Regions from separate parts of the Homo sapiens genome. Here all the other regions are linked to region 2. Evidence: promoter capture Hi-C in human tissues and cell types (Jung and others, 2019). All regions are on one chromosome and are shown on one strand. Each heading gives the region's core, a stretch centred on a gene start or on the middle of the fragment in contact. The rest is flanking DNA. Distances are from core to core; before and after follow the strand shown. Region 1 overlaps SAMD12-AS1 (SAMD12 antisense RNA 1). Region 2 holds the start of EXT1 (exostosin glycosyltransferase 1). Region 3 has its middle 12 kb from the start of COLEC10. Region 4 has its middle 120 kb from the start of SAMD12.

The links. Contacts are between HindIII fragments. The study calls those that stand out against the background at their distance.
Region 1: a fragment that was not itself captured here is called in contact with the fragment with the promoter of EXT1 in region 2 in 2 of the 25 tissues and cell types used here (IMR-90 fibroblasts and hippocampus).
Region 3: a contact is called between a fragment that was not itself captured here and the fragment with the promoter of EXT1 in region 2, in 1 of the 25 tissues and cell types used here (IMR-90 fibroblasts).
Region 4: a fragment that was not itself captured here is called in contact with the fragment with the promoter of EXT1 in region 2 in 2 of the 25 tissues and cell types used here (aorta and hippocampus).

The regions. Positions count from the first base shown.
Region 1 is chr8:118,649,816-118,654,267 of GRCh38, reverse strand. The region is part of intron 2 of SAMD12-AS1 (SAMD12 antisense RNA 1); the gene reads right to left. Among named protein-coding and RNA genes, the nearest start is that of SAMD12, 30 kb to the right of the region's middle. The HindIII fragment of the contact is 3,936 bases long and covers 399-4,334 here.
Region 2 is chr8:118,110,563-118,114,475 of GRCh38, reverse strand. EXT1 (exostosin glycosyltransferase 1) reads left to right here and starts at 2,650. Exons shown (of 11, transcript NM_000127.3): 1 at 2,650-3,913. The coding sequence starts at 3,430. RefSeq lists silencers at 2,228-2,607, 2,708-2,797. The HindIII fragment of the contact is 7,998 bases long and covers 1-3,913 here.
Region 3 is chr8:119,052,969-119,057,026 of GRCh38, reverse strand. It overlaps a transcript of COLEC10 not described here. Among named protein-coding and RNA genes, the nearest start is that of COLEC10, 12 kb to the left of the region's middle. The HindIII fragment of the contact is 6,140 bases long and covers 1-4,058 here.
Region 4 is chr8:118,740,514-118,744,921 of GRCh38, reverse strand. No RefSeq gene overlaps it. Among named protein-coding and RNA genes, the nearest start is that of SAMD12, 120 kb to the right of the region's middle. The HindIII fragment of the contact is 3,609 bases long and covers 1-3,207 here.

The DNA.
Region 1 (4,452 bases), core at 1,117-3,616, 540 kb before region 2:
ATGTTACAGCCTTTTAAATACTATACCACTTCTTAATTATGTTTTGTAGTTGCTAAGAGAAACATAATTATAGAATCAGTAAAAAATTTTTAAGTATTAAGACACAAACAAATCCATTTCTTCCACTAGACACCAAAAGCACAATGCCTAGGGCCTATAAAATTTTCAAAACTCACATGCACACAAAGCAACAAAAAAAGTATCTAGTTTATAATTGGAAAAGGAAATTGCAAAATAGGAATTAGTAAATGCTACTATTAAATCTACAGAAGGTATCATTTTTAACTATTCAAAGACAAATCTTAAGACAGTTATATATAAATTAAAATGTTTCATTTCCCTTATGAAAATGTATTTGATATGATGTGGGCCTCCAGAAGTATGAGAGCCTAAGGCTTGCAAAGATCTTAAATTGGCCCAGAGTTTAAGGAGGTAAATCTGACTGATGAAGCTGTTTTCCAACATTGCTTTATTAAACATGGTTTTCATTTCTCCATTAAGTAACATACCAAGGTACACTTACAGTATCAACAGGTATTATAAAATTCCTACATCTGTCTACAGCCTTGATTAATAAAGGTCCGTTGCTTCAGGTATTTGCTTCTACTTAAGATGTTTGCTTTATGGTTTCCTCTAATTTAGCCACTGCTTATTTTTCATCGAGTATATAGTTGCAATCTGCTTTTTGCTCAGACCCTGAAAGAAACTAATCACTGCTCCTCTCCAGTAGCCATCCAGCTTGTGGAACTTTGTTATGGCAGTCCTATCAAACTAACACATTTTTCTCTAGGTTGAAATTCCATATTCCAACAAGAAGGAAACGGATCTATCTTGATTCAGATGCCTTTAATCAACTGTGATCCCACGGGCAGAATCATAACTTCCGCAGACCAAGTGTATATATGAGAGAAAGGGATGTCTTTGCTTGATCCCTAGAAAATTGAGCCAGAGGAAATAATTAAGAGCTGATGCTTTATTTCGGAAGTACAAAACCACGGCAGTGAGGGTGAGGACAAGGTAGCGCTACCATACATCCCCATTTGCTTTAGTCTTGGTTTACACCTGGTTGTCCCGGTAGGTTGCTGCGAGGTGATGAGCAAATTCATCCATGGAAGAGGAAGGCCTTATGATCTCCTATGAGGAGACACAGGGTGATACTCCACAAATGGGGCAATATCCTTTCCTTCAAGAAAGACTATGCGAAGTCAAGTGACCCAGGGGTTCACAGGACTAGGGGTCAGGATCCCACATACATAGTTTTGTTTTTGTTTTTGTCTTTCATTTGGCTTAAGAATTTCTATGTAATGCTAGGTTTCAAAGGCATCTAGTTTGGGGTTTACCGACAAATGTAAGTTTTTTATAGTTACGCTTTTATTTTAATGTGTATTACAAAAATTAGCATTAAATATGCAAAATAAATGTACCTAATAAGAAATAAATGAATTATTTAAAGAAAAAGATCCAGTAAATAATAGTACAGAGAGCACTGCTGCAAACATTGTGGGGGTGGTTCACAAAAGAAGTTCATTCATAAATCTGCATGCAACATGGGAGACTGGCCGTGGGCAGTGGTTCAACCTGGCCTCGAACAGCTCCAATGACTAGGTTCTTGTGCGTCCCTTCTCCTGGTGCCTCAGCCGGGTCTTTCCTCTTCTTCCTCCTTGCTTTTTCCCATTAGTCCTGATTAAATCCTGTGGAGTCATATAGAATTATTCTGTTGCTCCTGCTCCATATCTGTCCTTCCTATATTTGAAGACAATCACAGCCTTCTTCAAACCTTCTTTTTCTCATGTATAACTATTCCTGTGGCCCTTCCTCATTGAGAATCTTTTCTCTTGTCTGTCATTTTCTGAATAAACAGAAAGGATGCCCAAATGTCATGAGCAAAGATTTCTCATGCAACCCACTTGTGTAGAACTCCAAGAGACTAATGAGTCTCTGCTTTTAATGTAACTCAAGTATTTAAAATTCTTGCATAAAAATTATTTCATTTGATCCCCTCGAGTTACAGATGCAAGACGGGCCGGTGTTGGTAGCCCTATTTATTAGACTAGAAAACTGAGGGATTAAATTATTAGTGATTTTAGTTTAATTAGAAGACAACATTCCTGAGCACAAAACGGAGTCTCCACACACATCTGTTGCTTTTTTTTCTGCTATTTATATAGCCTCTTCTGTCATATAATTCACAGTACAAAATATAAGATAGGGCAGATAGATCCTAAGACAATGGAGAAGAAGAAGAAAAGAAGTAAAGTAGAAAATTAAAAGAGAACATATAAGGGATATGGAGTGGGTTGGTAGGCAAAGCAGAGGGAAATGGGTTTGAAAGAGAAATAACACTTTATTTGAGTATTTTATAGTGGATTGTCTTTCTTCATATTGGCTGTTGAACTTGATTTCCCTAAAGCAAGGGCCTGCTGCTTGTGTGGTACTAGGGAAGCCTCTCAGAAAATGCATATTTTCCCCAGAAGGACGAGCCTCAGGTCTGATCATTTGCTAGAAGGATTTACATGACTCAGCATACAGTTGTACTTACAGCTAAGAGCTGTTACAGTGAAAGGATATAAAGCAAAATCAACAAAAGGCAAAAGTTTGTCATACAAAGTCTGAAGGAAACCAGATGCCAGCTTTGAAGGTGTCTATCCCGGTGGAGTCACACAGGACGTGCTTAATTCCTCCAGCAACGATTGTTACAACATGCCTGAACTGTCTACTGGGGAAGCTCGCCAGAGACTCAGTGCCCAAGGTTTTTATTGGGAGATGGGTCCCTTAAGAATTCATTGTCTAGCATGTACCCAATCCAGAATCCCAGAAGGAAAGCAGGTGTTCAACATGAATGAAATTGTACAAACAGTTCAGGCACACCGAGCCATTTTTGTCAGTGAGGGGCCATTGATATCAGTGCAGGAAACTGTTTACCCAAGCTTCCAGATGCCAGTCAAGGGCCAGTCTAAGGATAGCAGTCTCAGGCCTGCTTTGTTAACTTTTCTGCACACACAGTAAATGCTCCATCCACCCAAAAGCTTCACTATACTCTCAAGTTGATTACAAAGAATTTCTTTTTTTCTCTTGGGAGAAGGGAATCCAGACTGTCCTAATATAGAAATGCAAGTCATCAGAAATATACTGGGATAGTAGATAAAGGAGAATGAGTGATACCAAGTAAATAATGAGTAAACCCATGTGACGGATGCACAAATCTATAGTTTCCTCAATGATCCTTAAAGAATGTTATTTCCCAATCCCACATGACAGCTAGTGCTTGCAACTGAGATATTTCTGCCCCTTAAATCTAATCTAAATCTTTCCTTCTTATTGAACTAGGTCTTTGCATTCCCTGTGGAAGTTCAATTGGTGACAGCATTACACATCATCAGGATCTATGATGACATCTATACTGGGGTGTATCCCTAAGAAGAGAATATTTGATCCTTACATTTCAAGAGTTCTTAAACTTCTACACATAGAAAATAAACATAATAGATTCAGAATACTTGAGGAAAGTATGCCAAAATCCAGTTTCTTTCAGAGAAAAGTTAGGCACTGATTAGCTGTGTCTCCTTGAGCAATTAAACCTCCAAGCCATTCTGGCCAACATAGTGAAACTTCATCTCTACTAAAACAAATACAAAAAAATTAGCAGGCCATGGTGGCACATGCTTGTAGTCCCAGCTACTCAGGAGGCTGAGACAGGAGAATTGTTTGAATCCGGGAGGCAGAGGTTGCAGTGAGCCAAGATCACGCCACTGCACTCCAGCCTGGGCGACAGAGCAAGACTCCATCTCAAAAAAAAAAAACAAAAAACCTCCAAGCCTTAGTTTTCTCATCTGTAAAATGAGGGGATCAAACTACGTGCCCTCCAAGATTTCTTCTGACTGAAAAACTCTCTAAGTCAATGGGTTTTTATGATTCTGTCATGTAAACTGCCATTGGCATTGTTTATAAGTCATAATGCCTTTGATTCGAATGTCTTTCCTCCATTCAGATCTAGGGATAGGAAGGACAGAGGGGCAGAGAGCTTGGGGGTAGAGTTGGGGAGCAATGACTTCAAAATAAAAAGTTGTGGGAACTCAAAGAACATCTAAGTAAAACAGGAGTCCTCCAAATATCCTCCCTACTCAGAAACTTATATTTGGATCACATAGAACTATTTCCTGTGCTCCAGCTGAACTTCCCTTTCTTGGTTTTTAATAATAAAGAAACCAGCACATTAATTTTTAAAACAGGAAATAATAGGGCAAAGACTCCATAAACAGCTGAAATGTTAATCACACAAAGGCTCCCAAAGCAATTTCGCTCTGGACTCCTCATGGTTATGCATTACAATAGGAATTTTCATCAAAACACTGACCCTAGGACTGGCTGCTGGGCAAATGGCACCTAGGGCAGCCTTTATCCCTGTGCCAGCTCTTGAAGGAACAACCAGGGCAGAATGTTTCAGAAGAGCCA
Region 2 (3,913 bases), core at 1,401-3,900:
TGCCTGTAATCCCAGCAATTCGGGAGACTGAGGCAGGATAATCACTTGAACCCGGGAGGTGGAGGTTGTAGTAAGCTGAGACCACACTGCTGCACATTCCAGCCTGGGTAATAGAGCAAGACTCTGTTAAAAAGAAAAGAAAGAAAAAAAAAACTGCTGGCAAGAAAGATATTATTATCCTGACTTTTCAAACGAGAAACTGGAGGTCCACTGAAATTAAGCCACATGCCCAAGGTACTAGTAAATGGCAGATCTGGGGTCTGAATTCAAGTTTTCTCTAATTGTCAGCACCAAAGTTTTTCTGACAGTACACAACACTTTGGGATGTACAAGTAGAGATGGGTAACACTGGGGTCTGGGATAAGGAAATTAGCCATAATTAGGCAAGAAAAGCAGGAAGCACATGCCAAAACATAAACAGAACACAAAAGAGCAAGGAGGGTAGCTAGCTCCCCCTAAGGTCATGCAAAACAACTGGCAAGATATAGAGGGGCCAGGCGAGGTGGCTCATGCTGTAATCCCAGCACTTTGGGAGGCCAAGGTGGGCAGATCACTTGAGGTCAGGAGTTCGAGACCAGCCTTGCCAATACAGCAAAACCCCATCTCTACCAAAAATAAACAAAAATTAGCCAGGGCTGGTGGTGCACACCTGTAATCCCAGCTACTCCGGAGGCTGAGGGAGGCAAATCACTTGAATCTGGGAGGCAGAGTTTCTAGTGAGCCGAGATCCTGCCACTGCACTCCAGCATATATATATATATATATATATATATATATATAGAGAGAGAGAGAGAGAGAGAGAGAGAGAGAGAGAGAGAGAGAGAGAGAGAGCACCTCCAGTCCCACAGCCCCACTTCACAGGGCTGAGATAATCTGCACCCTGATCAGAAGAGAAGGCCTCCTGCCTTGAACTGTTGTTCTTAGCAACTTGGGCTGGGGGGAGCTTTGGGTCACATGTGGTTTCAATCACTGCCTTTATCTGCATCATTGTCACTGTATTTGGAAGATGACTGAATCCTTATTCCTGTCCCAGGCCTCTCTACATTGTGCAGGGGGTTCAAGTCAAATCTGGAAAAGCTGTCTCATCTTTGGCAGGTCAGAAATAGGGAGAGGCTTCACGAATGTATAGTAATGTCCCACCCATGCCCCTTCCCTGCTTTATTAAAACAAATCTGAAACAACAGAGGTCTGAAACTTTCCACTCTATCATTTCATACTGCCTTGTTATAACCCTGCCCTTCATCCACACCCCGCTGGGGTTTTTGCAGCCTGAGGGAAGCCGGGAAGTGTCTGCTCCTAGCTCTCAGTCACTCCCATAATAAACAATCACTAAACAGCCGGCTGCCCTAGGCAACTGTCTAGCTTGCCCGAGCCCTGAGACTTTAGCTAGGCCAGAGGGTGGGAGGTGTTTTCTGTAAAGCAGTGTTCAGGATCTGAGGCCAGGGAGTTTGACTTTGACCAGAGATACTGTTTGGGAGCCTAGCACATCTTTGTGGACCTGGAGGATCTTTAGCGGGACTGCTCCTCGGTTACCTGAGTTATCTAATGAAGTTCTTCCACTGGGAGTGGCAGGAGCTTGGGCCAAGGAGTGGGAGGTCAGTGAGGGAAGGACCAACTATTTGGCACTAATTGTACATAAGGTAGTTTTCCTGATGCAAGTGTTCCTTCTATAGCTGGGACAGTTGGCAATTCTACCAGTCATATGTCCTTAAGAGATATCTTTAACACCACCACCACCACCACCACCACCAAGAGAATAACATCACTTTGAGGACTGGGGCAAGCTTAAATTAACTGGTTTCCCTGCAGCCATTAGAAAATTTATTTTTTCTCTGTGATTGGATCTCTTGGAAGCTTTCTTCATAATAGACAGAGGGGGCTCAGGCAAGGCGGCCTAAGTAGATAATGAGGATTTAGGATAGCCGTCTTACACTCTTAGCACAGAGGCAGGCATGAAGAATTGCAACAATTCCTCTTGATTGTAATAATTCCTCTTTATTGTTGGGCATTGGGGTGTTTCTTTGGTTTAAAAAAATGTGCTATGTAGAGGAGGAGTAAGGGGAGATTGTTTTAATGCTTAGCAGAAAATTGAAATACTGGGTCTCGGAGAGTGGAAGGAGGGCTGGGAGAGGCAGCTTTCGGATCGGCGGTCGCTTTCTATGAAGTCTTCCTTTCCTCCCTGCTTCCCTCCTTCAAAGCATCTTTCTCTAGGCGTTCCGGCAGGCAGCCCAGGAGGCCAGATTCTCCAGGGCGCCCGGGGCCGCGCGGCACGGGGCCCCTGCCGGTGCCTCCTTCCCCGGCCGCCGCGTTTCCGCAGGCGCCTCTGGTCCCCGGCACGGCGCAGGCCGAGATCCGGGCCTGGGCGCGCCGAGGGGCCGCGGGGCTCGCACCGGGCCGTCCCGCGCTCCACCTGCCCGGCAGCCCGCCGGCAGCTTGCAACCCGGGAGCCCCGGCTCCCTGCGCCCCCTACGCCCCCAACGCCGCGCCGGCGCCTCGGCCCGCGGCCGGGGGTTATGAATGGGCGCAGCGGAAGCACCGCCCCCCCCGGACGTGACGCTCGGCCAATGGCAGCGCGGGCTGCGTGGATGGATGAGGTCAGCGCTGTCGTGTCGGGAATGGAATGTGTAAGTGTAACATTCAGAACCGGGTAACATTCGGCGACCGAACGCGGCGGTCGGCAGCGTTCGCGCGGGGGCCTGCGAAGCGCTGCTCGGGGCCGGCACTGCCCGCGGGGAGGACGCGCCGCCGCCGCCACCCAGCGCCGCCGCCGCCGCCGCCTCCAGCCGGGCCGCCGCGCGTCCCGGGGGCCGGCCCCGCGAGCGCAGGAGTAAACACCGCCGGAGTCTTGGAGCCGCTGCAGAAGGGAATAAAGAGAGATGCAGGGATTTGTGAGGTTACGGCGCCCCAGCTGCAAGATGCACTAGCCGGCTGAACCCGGGATCGGCTGACTTGTTGGAACCGGAGTGCTCTGCACGGAGAGTGGTGGATGAGTTGAAGTTGCCTTCCCGGGGCTCATTTTCCACGCTGCCGAGAGGAATCCGAGAGGCAAGGCAATCACTTCGTCTTGCCATTGATTGGGTATCGGGAGCTTTTTTTTTCTCCCCTCTCTCTTTCTTTTCCTCCGTCTTGTTGCATGCAAGAAAATTACAGTCCGCTGCTCGCCCGCCCTGGGTGCGAGATATTCAGCCCCGCTCTCTCCCGTGCATTGTGCAACCCAAAGATGAAAGACCGAAGGGGAGAAAGTTAAAGAAATCGCCCACATGCGCTGGATCAGTCCACGGCTTGGGGAAAGGCATCCAGAGAAGGTGGGAGCGGAGAGTTTGAAGTCTTTACAGGCGGGAAGATGGCGGACTGGAGCTGAAAGTGTTGATTGGGAAACTTGGGTGATTCTTGTGTTTATTTACAATCCTCTTGACCCAGGCAGGACACATGCAGGCCAAAAAACGCTATTTCATCCTGCTCTCAGCTGGCTCTTGTCTCGCCCTTTTGTTTTATTTCGGAGGCTTGCAGTTTAGGGCATCGAGGAGCCACAGCCGGAGAGAAGAACACAGCGGTAGGAATGGCTTGCACCACCCCAGTCCGGATCATTTCTGGCCCCGCTTCCCGGACGCTCTGCGCCCCTTCGTTCCTTGGGATCAATTGGAAAACGAGGATTCCAGCGTGCACATTTCCCCCCGGCAGAAGCGAGATGCCAACTCCAGCATCTACAAAGGCAAGAAGTGCCGCATGGAGTCCTGCTTCGATTTCACCCTTTGCAAGAAAAACGGCTTCAAAGTCTACGTATACCCACAGCAAAAAGGGGAGAAAATCGCCGAAAGTTACCAAAACATTCTAGCGGCCATCGAGGGCTCCAGGTTCTACACCTCGGACCCCAGCCAGGCGTGCCTCTTTGTCCTGAGTCTGGATACTTTAG
Region 3 (4,058 bases), core at 716-3,215, 940 kb before region 2:
TTATCCAAGTAAAGTGGGAGAGGAATAAAAGAAGAATATTCCATATAGACAGAATAGCACATTTAAGTCTTAGTTGAGAGAATGATGTGTTTGAGGAACTGAAAGTATAATTGATTGAGCATAGAGGTTGGAACTTGATGGGATAAATAAGGCTTAACCTAGAGTTAAGGACTAGATCCTGAAGGGCATTATACATGCTGCTGAGGAGTTTGGAACTATCATAAGGGCAATCGTGGCCCGTGAAGATTTTTTTTTAAAAAGAATGCCAATATTAGAAATAAAATGGAGGATATGAGAAATGTGACAGAGGTACAACTTCATTGGCTTCATGTAATAGAAACCCAGTAACAGTGGCTTACTGACTTTATGAAATGAGGTGTTTTGTTTTGTTTGTTTGTTCAGATAATAAGGAATATGGACACAGATAATCATGACATAGTAGCACCGTGTTACTGCCAGCAACCATGACTTCTCCCTTCTGGCTTTACTATTTTTTGCATGGAGCTTTTCTCCTTGTACTCACAAAAGGGCTGCTACAATTCAGACATTGCATCTACATTCTAGGCATGAAGGGAAAGGTTGTGGATCAAGAGCTGATGAAACAAGACAGTTAAGTTAATCAATTTTTAAGGAGTTTTTCCCAGAAAACTTTTGGGGTAAAATCCACTTTCATCTCGTTGTCCAGAACTATGTCCTATGCTAGCAGCAAGGGAAACTAAGAGATTAAACATTTTTAATTAGGTAAATCAAGGCTATGGAAGCAAGAATAGATATTGAGTAGGCAACCTGTAGTGCTTGACTTTTTAAGGGTACCCTGGACATTATCAGCAACAATGGGGTTACAGAGAAGCAAATCAATTCGAGGTATTAACACAAGTGGAAGTGACAAGATCTATTGATTCTTTGGAAATTGAGGGTAAAGAAGAGGAAGAAATCAGGATGATTCCCAGGTTCCTGCCTTAAACAATTGGATGCGGTGTCATTTACTGAAACAAAGAATGCAAATTGTGAGGAGAAGTAGATGAATTGAATCTTGGATACGTGGAGTTGGTGTCTGTTGGCTCAAAAAAATTCCAGCCAGAGGTACAGATTAGAAAGTCATCTACATATCAGTCGTAATTAAAGTCATTGGAGTGAATGAGAGCTCAAAAAATAGAAACTGAGAAGAAAAAAACAGTCAAGGTATTTTAAAGACAGAATGAATAGGATTTGGTAAAGTGTCAACTCTGAAGAGGAAGCATGTTCAGATTTTATAACTGGAAGATTCTTCGATGTTTTGGCAGTGCAAAAAGGAAATTGATACTTAATAGCACTTTTTTCTCTTTTTGACAAGGCATTTTTATTCTTTGTAGTCAGCTCTAACACATGATCAATTTTAAATTGCTTTATGCTCTCTAAGACAAATAGCTGATTAAATTGAATATGTGTAATAGAAACTGTTAAACCTGAGTTGTGACTTGACATTTTTGAGGCATGGAGCCAGCTTTCAATGCCATCACAAATTTTGCTCCTGGGATGAGTATTTACTTATTCTGTATCTAAGCTCACCATTTTGCAAATGTGGAGACTGTGACCCATGCTAACCTTGTGGGGACAGGTCAAATAAAGGTTTACAGTACATGGGCTCCTGAGAAATAGGAAAATAAAGATTGAGTTACTAAAGAGCACGCTTTTCTCTCTCATTGCTATACACAGAGGTCAGAGATGAGTGTTCTTCAGGGTCATTGCCACTTCCTGTTCTTCCTTTACCCCTTGCTTCTGAGAAGCCTCAATCAGTAGGGTTTCCACACACTGAACAGTGAGTGGTTGACCTATTGTATTTGTTTGATACTCAACACAGAGAAGTTAAGAAAGGCTATCAGGCATTTGCTGAACTGATAAAACAGAATACAATCCATTCCTGGGAAAATGTTTTCTGCTTTTATGGAGATAAATATTTATTTCAACTCTACTGAAAAGCATGTGCCTAATAAATAATCTGTTTCTTTTTTAATGGTTTGTTTATGTTTTAGATAATTCACATCACAGATTTGGGTCGCTTACATCATATAAAATTCTCAAAATGTATTTTCATAAATTACTTTCGAGAAGATCTAAACTTAATCATCAAGAAAATAGCCTTCATTTTCTATGTTCCTATAAATGACTAAAATTTCTACTTCATAACATTCATAGATATTGCAGTCTTTTATACACATAATTACTTTTTATGTGAAAGGATTCAAAAGCTTATAAGGAAGGGCATGTCACAATTTATACAACATTGAGGAACACTTTTGTTTAAAAACAATAATTTTGTTGCAAACATTTTTAAAAACATGTTAATTCCAGAGGCATCATTCCAGAATACATCACAGAAAATGGAAGCAAGAATCTAGGGACAGGACCCAGTAAGAATGATGTGAGTGATTTCAGATGCCATAAGGATATATAACTAGGTTTATGTTTTAGTATTGTACCGCCGAGCTCAACTCAAAATTGGTTTTGTGTTCCGTTCTTCTAACCAATCCCAGCCCCACGGCATCTCTGCTAAGTGACTCTTTATCTCTTACATGCTTCCTAAATGAATATCATCATCACTTATCTTTTAAAATACAAACGTCTTTATATGACCTGTTTGCAATCTGATTATTGCAATCTGAAGAATTCCCCTGGCAAATAATGACATTTACAAGTTGCATTCCTAAAATACAGTAGTCTCCTCTTATCTGCAGTTTCACTTTCAATGGTTTCAGTTCAACAGTAGTCTGAAAATATTAAATGGAAAATTCCAGAAATAAGCAATTCATAGGTTTTTAAATTGGGTGCCATCTGAGTAGCATGATGAAATCTCATATCATCCTACTCTATTCTGCCTGGGACATGAATCCCTCCTTTGTCCAGCCTATCCATTCTGACTAGCTACCTGGTCGTTAGTCACTTAGTAGTCATCTTGGAGATGAGAGATACTGTTGTAATATTGCAGAGCTTGTGTCCAAGTAACGCTTATTGTACTAAATCATGGCTCCAAAGTACAAGAATAGTGATGCTGACATGTTGTTTTAATTGTTCCATTTTATTATTAGTTGCTGTTAAGCTCTTACTGTGCCTAATTTATAAATTAAATTTTATCATAGCTATGTATGTATAGAAAAAAACATAGTATATATAGGGTTCAATACTATCCACGGTTTCAAGTATCCAATTGGAATGTATCCCCCGTGGATAAAGAAGGGAATACTGTAAATTATTTGAAGTCAACAGACTAAATCAAGAACTGAAGGAAAGAATGAAGATTATTTTGTAAGTTTAACTGTGTGCAAGCTATCATATTAGAGATCTTTAGAAATAAGCCCCCCCCACCTTTTTTTTTAATTGCCTACAATCCTGAGAGGCACTGTTACCATCTGGAGACACAAATGGAGAATGGACTTTAGAAGAGTTTAGTAACTGACTTCATGTTTCAGAGGAAAGTAGTGAAGTGAGGATTTAAACCCTGATTGTTCACTGCACAGCACCTGCTAAGAACTATTGCTCACTAACTCAAATGCAATCCTTCACACTGTGTATGTTAGGAAATGTGGAAGCCAGGTGCCAGACACCTTCGGGTACTCAAGTGTTCCTGCTTTGAGGAGTAATAATGCTCTTTCATCCTTAAATGAAACAGCCTTGAGCTTCTGCCTTGCAAACTTTGCTAGCGTATTGCCCTTACTAAGATTGCTGAGAATTCCTGAAGACTTATTTCCTATTCACTGCTGCTCATCTCTTTTTAGCATCTTGACCCTCTCTTCCTGCAGCTCATTTCACCTCTCCAACCTGCTCTCACCCACAGATAGAACATAGTCCCCCCTTTTACGGTTTCCCTGAAGCATCCCAATATAAAGCAGTTTTATGCAGCATTTTTCCACTGAAGTGTTGAGGATAACAGAGTTATTATTGTAGAGCACATCAAATCAAACCACTTAAAATTGAGTAGGAGGCATTCCTGCTCATCAGAATTCTCTAGCCAGTATCACACTAGGAATTTCCTCTTTGCCGTCTTCGCTCAGGACTTTCCTCCTCCACGTTTTTCTCTGGAA
Region 4 (4,408 bases), core at 154-2,653, 630 kb before region 2:
CTCAGCTACCACATTCATTTCCAGAGGAAGTTTCTTATGGTTCAGAACCCTTCAAGCCTGATTCCGGTGTAGTTCATAAGTGGCAATCATAAACTGTGTAATTCCACAATAGTCCTAGTTTCAATATTTTCCTGGGAAAAGAAACATTTTGAGAAATCCCTGACCTGTGTGGTCCATTTTCATGGTACTTGAGGCTTCTTTCTAACAATAGATTGTGGCCATTTTCCTTAAGCAAAGCTTTGTTTCCACAGCTTTGCCGGTCTCAAAAGACCAACTCAAATATAGAGAAAAAATATGTCTTTTGCTCAGGTACAGAAACCACATTGTAGGTCAATAAATAGGAATGTCCTCTTGATACCATTTAACCCTACACCTATCCCAAAGTCAGCACAACTTCAACTAAAAGCAGAGCAACCACGTAACTAGTGGGAAGGAGAGAGTAACCAAAACCATCAGGGTCATGGTGGAAGAAACTCAGAAACGCATGATGAGGTAGAAGTTGGGATGCCCGCAGTACATCAATGTCTCCTTTCCGTCTGGGGGAAATCCTTATTCCTACTATCAATAATTTCTTGGAAATACTGTGTTACCTCTATGGGAGAAAGAAGAGCTCTTCTAAGATTTCTAATTTCACCTTGGAGTTTCTTCTGTTTTTCCTCTACCACACTCAGCCACCCCAGAAGCAGTTAATCCTCCTGAAAATAAAATACTTTTGCAGTTAGTCGTTTCCAGTCTTATTTTCTCAGCCATTCTGCTTTCATGCCAGCTCCCTGACTATGATTATATTGATCCATGTATCAGTGAAACAAAGCCCAGCATAAGCTCAAGACCTTGGGTTGTCCACCTCATAGCTCATTTTGACAGACTTAGCTAGAGGTTTGGGTTTTTGTTTGTTTGTTTGTTTGTTTTTCCCTCTGTTTTGTTTCCTTTTTCAACTAAGAATATCTTCAAGTTTAGGGACAAATTTATAGACTTATGTAGTGAGTTCTCTGGAATTCATCTCCGTGCTAGTTACCCCTCCTGCCATGGCACAGAGCACATCAGACCCTTCCTCTGTGAAAAGGACAGATTCCTGGTGTTCTCAAGCTTAGCTGATTGCCACAGCGTGGTGTGGTGTGACTGCCATCTGCTGGCATGGGGCTGACATTACAGGATGGTAACCATGCACTCCCTGGTAAAATAATCAAGAAGTACTTGTTTGGAAAACAAAAGCTTTCTCTGGAGAAATGAAGAACAAGTTTTGTTATAAACCTTGTCCATCTTCAACACCAAAAAAAAAAAATTCTTTTACTCTGGAAAAGCTAAAGAAAAACAGAAAATTGGTTTATGGCAGACTTCCAAGTGTTCAACACAGTGAGGAAATGGGATTATCAGCTACTACCCTTATGACCACAGCAGAACCCAGTAGCATAAAATGAGAAACCAAACCTCACTGACTCCAGCAACAAGTTCCTACCTTGTGAAGCCACTTGTGTGTGGACACTAACACCAATGACAGGTTGAGGGATCTTCCTTAAGATACTGACAATGTCTGTAACATTTTTCTCTTTAAAAGATTGTGTTTTTTTGGAACCCAAGTGACCAAAACATAAGCACTGACATTTAGGGGATGAGAGACTTTTTTTCTCATTATAAAAGCCATGCCTCAATGTTTAAGGATCAGAATCATGCGTAAGAGATGTTTATATGAGCTCGCCTTTAAAATCAGAGCCAGGCACTTTTGCTCAGTCCTGACTTTCTTTCCAAGTCTTATCTTCAGGATGTGTGGACCTGCACAATTTGTGGCAATGGAAGCCAAGTTTCTATTGCTGACTTCAGTGGGCGTTGCTGCTTATTTCCATGTCAAAGAATGGGACCTTGTATAATTGTGAATAGACAACAAGGAAGAATTTCCCATAGAGAACACCCTGATAGCGGAATAAAACTAAACTTCTTGAAAGGGCTTTATTCATTGTAGAAGCAATAAAGTCAACACTGAAGGCACTGTCTGCTGTTAATCAACACAAATTTCTTCATTAAAGCCTATGGGAACTGAATCAAATTTCAAATTTTATAAAACCAAGGGTATATAATAACTATTATATTTCTGCACTTATACAAATGTAATTTTTCTTATCCCCAAATCCTGTTTCTCCCCCAAGCTTCCCCATCTTATAAATGGCCACACATCTGCTCAGTTGCTTGAACCCCAATTGTACAAAATCATCCTCGCAAGCTCTACGCTCTCACTCACCAAACCCAATCCGTCTCCATGTCTTGGCAGCCCTACCTCAAAATCCAAAACTATCTCCACCTCTCTTTATCTACAGGGGCCAGAGGAGTCCAAGAGTCCAGCCCACTTTCATTTTTCTTTATCATCTACAACCATAGCCTATTTAATGGTCCCAGCATCCACTTTTGCCTCTTCATCTTCAATTCTCAGCAGCACAGTTGGAATGATCTTTCTAAACTATAAACCTCCAGGGATGACCCAGAGAATAAAACCTGAACCCCATAGCATGGTTTACAAAGCCCTTCCATAATCTTGCCTCTACTTATTCTTCACTCTCTCAGCTTCCTCCCTTCCCACAACTCAATATACTGCAGGCACTCTGGCCTTCTCTCTGTTCTTCCAACTCTCCCAGGCTGCTCCCACTTAGGAGTTCAGATTTGCTTATTTCTCTGTATGGCACCATATTCTTGCACGTCCAGCTCCTTCTTTTCATTTCAGTGTCACAGAGAATATCACTGCCTCAGGCCAGTACACCTTCCTGAGCACCCTGTGAAAATCAGTCCTTTCCCTTCTGGATTTCATAACTCCATTTTACTTGCTTCATACCATTGATCCTATCAGCAATTATCTTGTTCCTTTTTTTTCACTTTTTTACTTATATTCTAGTATTGGAATGTAAAGCCATGAAAACAGAGACTTTGCTATCTCATTTAACATTGTATCACCAGTACTTAGATTAAATCTGGCTCATATTAAATACTTAATAAATACACGTAAAGGAAGGAATGTGTGTGCACATTATCCATCTAATTACATTTGCCTATAATTAAGGTTTTCTCTTATAAGGAAGAATAATTGGCACCTTTTTAGGAAGAATCTCAAATTGGATCATGTGTAAGAGCTTGAGCTCTGATATCAAGCACTATTGGTTGGTGTCTTAGGTGAGGATAACCAGTATCAGATACTGAGAAAGAATTTGTGTGCAAATTGTTCATTAAGAATGGGATCTCCAGGAAACTTATAAGGGACAAAAAGAAGGAAAATAAAGTAGGGAAGAAGCCAAGGATGGGCATGACCTCAAGCAAAAGGTTTGATGAGGAAAAATACAGTCCAATCCCAGTGGGGCATGCTGGAGTGGAAGTTACCCCTCAAAATCATCTCAATCTGAATCAAGCATGCTGGAGTTTCATAATCCAGCCCAGGCAGGCATTGGCTAAGAGCCATCAGGGTGGGTACATGCTCCCAGGCCCTGCTTGTGGGCAATGCAACTCTATTATACCCAGCCCCACCACTCTTCGGCACTCTGACTTGGGGTATGTGGAATAACGTTTCTAAGAATGAATTTATGAGTAATTTTCTCTTGGAAAATTTTGTGCATTAAATGAGATAATGCATATAAGAGAACTTTGAAAATAGCTATTATTTATGATCTGGTTTTTAAAAGCAATTTGAGGGTTAAAAACAACATCTAGGAAATTAGGTTCTTACTTAGGAATAGAAACTCTGGTATATTGTCCAGTCCTATATATACAAAATTGAAAATAGAAGTGGGGAATGTAGGGAGAAACACTGCATAGTAGACTTAGGAAAATAAAAAAGCAACATAGCATCAATACGATGCTCACTTTTGTGAATATACTTGTAAGTTTTCTACGGAGACCTCTTAGGGTCCTGGAATATTGGCAGAAAAGAAAGAAGTTTGGCTTTCTGAACACACAGGAGGTGAGAGGTCCAACAATTTTCAGTTCCTTTAGAATAAGAGAAGTGGGTTCTGCCACAGTGATAACAAATGGATGCAGTCATCTAAAATATTTATGTTTGCACCCAGAGAAACTATAAACAGTTATTGGCGTCAGTTTGGATTCGTCAGCATGTGTTGTCAAAAAATAACTTTGATCTTAGAGAGAAAAGCAGCTGGAGCATCTTCAATCCCAGATGTGATCAGAGCCTGTCTACTGGATAATTTAAGAGAATTCTGCAGTCTGAACCAGCTTCAGAGAAAAGTGAGTGAGATTTACTTGCCATTTTTTCTTCGATGATGGTGAGATCTATTTAATAAGCTTGGGTAAATGCTCAAGTAAATGGTAGAATTTGGATCTGGGAAAAATCAGGCAAAACCACCAACCCCCATGACTGCTAGAGAGACCAGCACACTGAAAGGCAGGGGCCTGAGTCACTCATGGGAGAGCGGAGCTG